Linked DNA regions of Homo sapiens: region 2 is linked to region 1. The links are contacts of gene promoters, found by promoter capture Hi-C in blood cells and fetal thymus (Javierre and others, 2016). All regions are on one chromosome and are shown on one strand. Each heading gives the region's core, a stretch centred on a gene start or on the middle of the fragment in contact. The rest is flanking DNA. Distances are from core to core; before and after follow the strand shown.

Evidence for each region. Contacts are between HindIII fragments. The CHiCAGO score rates a contact against its expected background, and 5 or more counts as called.
Region 2: a fragment that was not itself captured here is called in contact with the fragment with the promoter of LINC00842 in region 1 in 2 of 17 cell types (megakaryocytes and total CD8 T cells); the score reaches 5.6 in megakaryocytes.

Annotation. Positions count from the first base shown.
Region 1 is chr10:46,396,298-46,400,078 of GRCh38, reverse strand. LINC00842 (long intergenic non-protein coding RNA 842) reads right to left here and starts at 1,717. Exons shown (of 4, transcript NR_033957.2): 1 at 1,286-1,717. RefSeq lists an enhancer at 2,842-3,457. The HindIII fragment of the contact is 4,014 bases long and covers 1-2,958 here.
Region 2 is chr10:46,535,525-46,539,305 of GRCh38, reverse strand. It overlaps LOC124902419 (a long non-coding RNA gene), which reads right to left and starts at 2,037. Exons shown (of 2, transcript XR_007062138.1): 1 at 1-2,037. RefSeq lists an enhancer at 2,984-3,485. The HindIII fragment of the contact is 2,757 bases long and covers 301-3,057 here.

The DNA of each region.
Region 1 (3,781 bases), core at 468-2,967:
CTGCTACCTCTTTGTAGTCACACTTCCCCACCACCGCCTCTAACGCCTGCCAACCACTAATCTGTTTTCACTGTTTATAATTTTGCCCCTGGAAGAATGTTATACAAGTGAAATCGTACAGTATGTGACTTTTTGAGATTGGTTTTTTTCACTTAGCCTAATGCTCTTGAGATCCATCCATTTAGTTATTTGCATGAATAATGTTTCTTTTTATTGCTGAATATTGGCATAGATGTGTCACTTAGTTTAAGCATTCACTTAGTGAGGGACATTTTGGTTCTTTTCTAGTTTCTGGCTATGATAGGAAGACACAGGAGAAAATCATCTGGACCTAGGAGTTGAGGATGAGTTCATAGGCATGGCACCCAAGTACGATTCATTAAAGAAAGAATTGATAAATTGGACTTCATCAAAATTAAAAACTTTGCCTCTGCAAAATATTCTGTTAAGATGATGAAAGGACAAGCTATGGAGGGGAGAAAATATTTGCAAACTGCATATCTGACAAAGGACTCACATTTACAATGCATAAAGAGCTCTCAAAACTCAACAGTAAAAAAAAAAATCTGATAAGAAATTGGGCAATAGACATGAAGAGACATTTCATGGCCGAGTCAAATCAGCATGTGGAAATATATTTAACATCATTAGCCTTTGGGGAAATGCAAATTGAGATCATGAGAAATCACTGCACACTTATTTGAGCAGTTGAAATAAAAATATAATGATAAAACCAAATGCTAGCAAGGATGCAGAGAAACCAAATTTCTCATCCCTTGCTTGTGAGAATATAACATGATACACACAGCCACTCCCAAAAATAGATTGACAGTTTCTCAAAAAACATGCACTTACCATATTACTCAACAATCACATTCCTGGGCTTTTATCAGAGAAATTATAATTTAAGTTTGCACAAAAAGCTACACACAAATGCTCATAACTGCTCTATTCGTCATGTTTTTATTGGCAGGTAATTTACATACAAAGAAATTCAAAAATCTTAAATTTCACAATTCAATGTGTTTTGTCAAATGCCTGCACTCCTGTCCCTCCCCCACTGTAAGATTTACAACACTCTAGCACCCCCAAAAAGTTATTTCATGCCCCCTTCAGCTAACCTCTACCATGCCACTCCATCCATAAACCCCAAAGCAACTATTAAAAAAAAAAAAAAAAGGCAAAAACCGCAATTACTTTTGCACCAACCTAATACTAGTCTGATTTTTAAATCACAGATTCATTTTCATATAAATGGAATCATACAATGTTTATTCTTTCATACCTGACTTCTTTCATTCAGGAACACGATTCAGAGCTTCTGCTGTGCAGTAGGGGACATCAATAGTTCATTTTCTTTTTATTGTCTGCTAACATTCCATTGTATGGATTCAACCTAGTCTGTTTATTCATTCTTCTTACTGATGAAGTTTTTTTCTCACGGCTTAAGTCCAAGGTGTGTCTTTTTCGTCCAGCCAGGTGGCCCCGGCAGGTCGCTCCTCAGGGACCCACATGGGTCAGGGCGGTGCAGCAGTGACCCACAGGGGCCAGTGCAGTTGAAGTGGCTTTGAAACCTGATTGGAGAAACAGACTGCTCAGCTGTTAAGAACACACAGCGCTCCAGAAAACTGGTGTTCAACACAACGCGTCACTCCGGCTTCCACTGCTGCTGCGGAGAGTCAGGTTCTCCGGCAAGGCCCCGCGCGCCCGCCCCCGCGCGCCCGCTTCTCTGTCCAGGGAACGCCTTTCTGCGGGCGGAGGCGGCTACGAGGGGGCGCTGCGAAAGCGGATTTCCAGGCACGCCTGGCGCCACTAAGCGGCGCTGAGACGGCGCTGCCTCCTGACTGCCGGTTGGAGGCTACAGGGGCTCTGGGGCAAGGGCCGCTTTTAGGAGTTTGCTGGTCACGAGGGGGGACGCGACCTCGTCCAAGATCTGTCTGCAAGGGACCCTTCCCAGCCGATGTGAACACAGCCCGGGGAAAGGGGTCTTCCGGGGAGCAAAGGCAGCCCGGGAAGAGGAGTAGGGGCTGAAACCAAAGGCAGCCTGGGTACCCAGGTTTTCCCAGGGGACAAGTCCCCCAGTTAGCTGGGCACAGGGAGGCATGGAGAGCGGCAGCAACTGCGTTGGGATGGGGCGGCTGCCCCAGGTTGGGGCGGTGACCCATGTTCCACCAGGCCAGGCGCAGGGCTGAGGTGGCTGACTCCTGTTTCACAAGTGAAGACCTGGTCACCCCAGCAGCAAGGCATTCCGGAGTGGGAGAATTCCTGAGTCCTGGGGAGGAAGCCGTGGTTACAGGGCTGTGGCCCTGAGCAGGAGCTGGCTGGCCCAGCAGGGTGGGCCGAGCACTTCAGTCAAGGCTGAGCGCCAGGCACCAGGGACTCAGGTCTGAGAGACCTGATGTACATCCTGCTCCAGAGCAGATCACAGAGATGCGCCCGCATGAATCCCCAGGCTAAGCCCAGAATTCCGTGGAAGATGCCCATGGGCCAGGAACACGGGTAGTCACCGCGCTAGGGCATCACACAGGGCCCCCCTTGGCCAAATACCACGAGGGAACTTAGACACCTGCATGGGGCCATGGAAGTGCCTGCAACCTCACACTCAGGCCTAGGGCTTACCGAGGTATTGCAGATATTTGTGTTCTCAGAGTAGGAGCTTAGGAATCAGTATCTTCTCTTCGCTACAGGGACAGAGATGCAGTGGCCTAGGACACATCACAAATATTTAAAACGATGTCCTTGGTCAAGGACAGAGGTAGCCAAGGCCAGCCTTCTCCCAGGAAACTAACCCAGGACCCCAAAGCACAGAGCTGTTAGGTGGGAGGGAATTGGTCTGTATGTCTCCCTATAGTGTTGCAACACTTCGGCGCTGGGCTCCCTGTCCCAGACTCACCTTCTATACTCAAGCCAGAGGCCTACGAAAGCCGGGTTAAGATCTTCCCCTGCCTGTCCCTGTAAAGCTTCCCCACTGTCTCTGGAAATCATTTGAGCTTCTTAGCCCCACAGCATGAGCCCGCTCTGACTCAGGCCCTGACAAGCTCTTTCTCTTCTGTCTCTCCCTCCTCTGTTGATATGGACACACCATTCCTTTGGCATGTCTAGTACAGACCAGATCCCCTGCTGTTGTTAGCATTCCTCCCTCTCCCTGGAATGTTCTTCCTTATCTGTCTACCTGATAAGCACTGAGTCATCCTGCAAAACTCTGCACAGCTTTCACCTTCCCTGAGGAGCCTCCCCTGGCCAGCCCCACCCTGTTGCAGGCAGAATGCTTGGCGGTGGGTTGCTGACCACAAATCCATTCCCCCTTTATTCCTTGCCAAGGGAATGCTGATTTTGCTCAGGTTGTCAACCCTCAGGGAGGTGACCCTAAACATGCCAAGTCCAACACACTAGCTCTACCCCCTGAGAGCATGAGAACAACACGGATGGGCATGTGCCCGGATCTGGCTTTGCCCTCATGGACTGCAGGTCAGGGGTGGGAAGCTCTTATAGAGCAGCCCCAGGAGCCCTAGGGGCCATCCTGCTGGCCATGCCATGGCAGTGTCAGAACCCCAAACAGCACCTGGGGTGAAGGAGCTACTGAAAGAGTGGAGAGACTCCACTTTGTCCTGTTAGATCTGTCTCAGAAGTATTTTTATTAGGATTGACTGGGTAAGCTTTCTTCCACAGGGAGCCTAAGGGGGCCCAGAGATTCTTCTCAGAATTGGAGGCCATCAAGGATTGGCTCAGGCTCGCTGGCTACTAGGCTCTCCTGTTCCCAAAGTCCATACTCTTGTTTGTT
Region 2 (3,781 bases), core at 430-2,929, 140 kb before region 1:
AATATTGATGCATTACTGTTTCCTAAAGTTCATGGTTTAAAGTTTACTCTTTGTGTTGGACACTTCTCTGGATTTTGAAAATCCATGTGGTGTATCTCCCACTCCAGTAGCATACAGAATAGTTGGACCACCTAAAAATCCCCTGTGCTCCGTCCATTCACCCCTCTTACCTTCCCCAGGACTCCTGGCAACCACTGATCTTTTTACTGTCTCTATAGTTTTCCTGAATGTCACAGAGTTGGCTTCATGTAGCATGTAGCCTTTTCAGACAGGCTTCTTTCACCTAGCAATATGGATTTAAGCTTCCTCCATGTATTTTCATAGCTTGAGAACTCATTTCTTTTTAGTGCTGAAAAATGTTCTGTTGTCTGGGCATACTGCCATTTATTCATCTACCAAAGGGCATCTTGGTTGCTTTCAGGTTTTGACTATTATGAATAAAACTACTATAAATATTCATGTGCAGGTTTTGATGTGGACATATGTTTACTTCAGTTGGTTAAATACGCAGGGCAACATTGCTGTAAGACTATGTTTAGCTTCATAAGAAACTGCCAAACTATCTCTGTACAATTTCGTATTCCTACTAGCAATGAATGAGAGTTCCTTTTTCTCATATAAAAATAAATATCCTTGTATGTATAGTTTTATGTTCAGGTGTGAGTATATCTGTAGGATAAATTTTTCATCAAGTGGTACATGTAAAATATCTACCGGTATTGGCAAATTGCTCCCCAGAAAGATTGCACCAATAATACATGAAAACGCATATTTTCTCATACCCACGCCAATATTTGATTGTTAATCGAACTTTAATATTTTGGCTAATTTGATAAGTGAAGGAACAATGTCTTCCTAGTTATTGTGATTTGCAATCTGTTCCCTGTGAGTGAGGTTGTGGTCTGCCGGACTGCGTGAGTGAGAATTCCTGTTCTGGCACTCTCAAGCTGTGTGATGCTGGGAAAGTTGCTGAACCTCCCTGGACCTCAGTTTCTTCATCTATAGAATGAGGATGGTAATGGGTCTTTACCTTATTAATTGGATTGGAGGATTTAATGGCATCATTCATGTAAAGTGCCAGCACAGTTCCTGGCTCAAAATAAGGGCCAAGTAAATGTAAGCTATTATTATTCTCCAATATGTTCATAAGCACTTGAATTTCTTCATTTCTGATCTGCCTATGTTCATATCAATTTCCCAGGATTTTTTCTTATTGATTGGTTAGAGCTCTTTGTATATTAATAACATACGTTTATTTTTTTCATATAAGTTACAAGTATTTTTTTATTCCAGTGTTTCATTTGTCTCCTGTTTATCAGATCCTGGCTCCAAACCAGTGCAACATCCTTCTCAGGGACACAGCATTTTAAATCTTACAAAGCCCCTCATTTCCCATCTGTCATTTATGTCTCAGGACATCCACATGAGGCAAGCTGATGTATTTTTCAGTAAAGAAGGAGACTTTATTGACCAGGCAGGGCGAGTGACTTGCCTAAGGGCACAGAAGGAATTAGTGGTTTGTACAGACTGAAATGGAGGGTCCTGGCCCCTAGGTACCACCTCCTCCACTCTTAAAGAAGGGGAGAGGGAATCTGGAGGTGCAGGAAGGAAAAGGTCAAGGTCATCATGACAGACAGCCTCACCCCATCCCCTCTCAGAACCCAAGAGCCTGGGTCCTTTTTTTTCTGTTAAGTTCTGACCATTCTCTCCTGATAAATCAAGGGAAGAATGCGAGTAAAGGGTATGTGTTACTCGGGCGAGACTCCCTGCTTGGAAGGTCTAGGAGGGGAGGTATGTGTGTGAGTGTGTGTGTGTGTGTGTGTGTGTGTGTGTGCATTCTTTCTGTCAAGTTGCCCAGCAGGTGAGCTGAAAGCTGGCTCTCTTAACTTGGGGATGAGCAATAGAGTCAGGTCTCGGTTCGTCATTTTCCAATTTCATCAGCTTTGAAAATATTTTAATAATAAAATCCAAGCATTTGATTTTCCTGACTAGTTGTTTATTCTGATTTATTGGCTATGCATGGTGCCTGAAGCTCCTCCAAACTCCCAAGGGTATCCCTGCATGTCTCAGGATGTCTCTTAACCCAGTGCCATGTGAGGGACAGAACCTAGACCAGGCATTCAGAGCCAGGTACCATTGTGCCTACCCTACTCACTGCTAGATGATGCTAGTGAGGTGCTCACACCTCTCTGGGCTTAGTCCCTCCATTGTAAGGCAAATGGGAGGCCTGCTGCCTCTGCCTTGCTGGGTTGTTGGTATGGCTGAAATGAGGGGATGAAGGTGATGTGGAAAACTTGATAGGAGAGTGGCTGCCGTGTGTCCATTCTGGTCTCCTTTGTCTCATGTCAAGCCCAGGGACTGGTTCTTTTTCTCTCTTCGGGTCTGTGACTTCTGGGAATCCTGCTTGCCTCGGTGCCCCCTGGTGAGGTGGTGCCATATAGGTTGCTTTAGCACATCACCGAGAGGGACTCTCCAAACCCTATGCTAAGTGTTCACCGCCAGAACACTTGCATTTGGGCCAGACCGGGCTAGGGTACCTAACCATAGCTTCCTGGGTTCATTTCACAGGGTGGACAGCAACTGAGAGATGTCCAGGGAAATTTCCCTTTTTAAGAGATAGGGGTTCTGGGGCCCATAAGGGCAGGAAGTATCCCCAACCACAGGCAAGTTCATGAAGCCCATAGGGAGTAGGATGGAGCCAGTTGCCAGGAGCAGGGAAAGGTTCATGTCTTTGCTCCTCCATGTACCCAGGGACTCAGCACCACCTGCAAGTTGATGGAAAGGCAGAATCTCAGCACACTCTGAGCCCCCGAATCAGAGTCTGCATTTTAACAGAACCCCTAGGTGAGGCAGAAGCCCACTACTCCAGTATCATTCATTCATTCACTCACCTAGCAAACATGCCTGAGGCCGACTCTGTGCCGTGCCCTGTGCTGACGAAGACCGGCCAAAAGACCTTGTTCTGGTCTTCCTGAAGCTCAGGTGGAGCAGACACCCCAACGGCCAACAAATGTGAAGATTGAGAACTGTGATGGGAGCCTGAGGTGGGAGCAGCTAAGCTTCCCTGGGGAATTGGGGGTCAGGGAAGTAGTCCCAAGAGGCTGAGTACCTCCTGTGTGGCAGGGGCAGGGTGGCCTTTGCTCCCTAGTATCTTTTTTTTTTTTGAGATGGAGTCTCACTCTGTTGCCCAGGCTGGAGTGTAGTGGCGCTACCTTGGCTCACTGCAACCTCCGCCTCCCAGGTTCAAGTGATTATTCTGCCTCAGCCTCCCAAGTAGCTGAGATTACAGGTGCCCGCCACCATGCGTGGCTAATTTTTGTATTTTTGCTAGAGACGGAGTTTCGCCACATTGGCCAGGCTGGTCTTGAACTCCTAACCTCAGGTGATCCACCCACCTTGTCCTCCCAAAGTGTTGGGATTACAGGCTTGAGTGACTGCGCCCGGCCTGTGCTCCAGTATCAAAACCTGCAAGCACCTACAGAGTGGAGGGTGCTATGGTCAGGGTGGTGCTCAGGTCCAGACTGATGGAGGAACCTGAGCAGGGGCGGGGAGGCATTTCAGGAAGAGGGAGCAGTTGCTCCTGCACAATTTTGTTGCATCGGGCCAAGCAGGAAGGCTGGAGAGGTGAGGAAGAGCCCCGGGGGAAAGCATGGACCATCAGGGAAAAGTCAGACATTGCCCTGTTGCTAAAGGCACTCCTGGATGGGTTTTAGCCCGGGGAGACCTGAATCAAATTAGGGTGCATAGAAAGACCATGATATCCCCTTGATGGGGAGGAGAA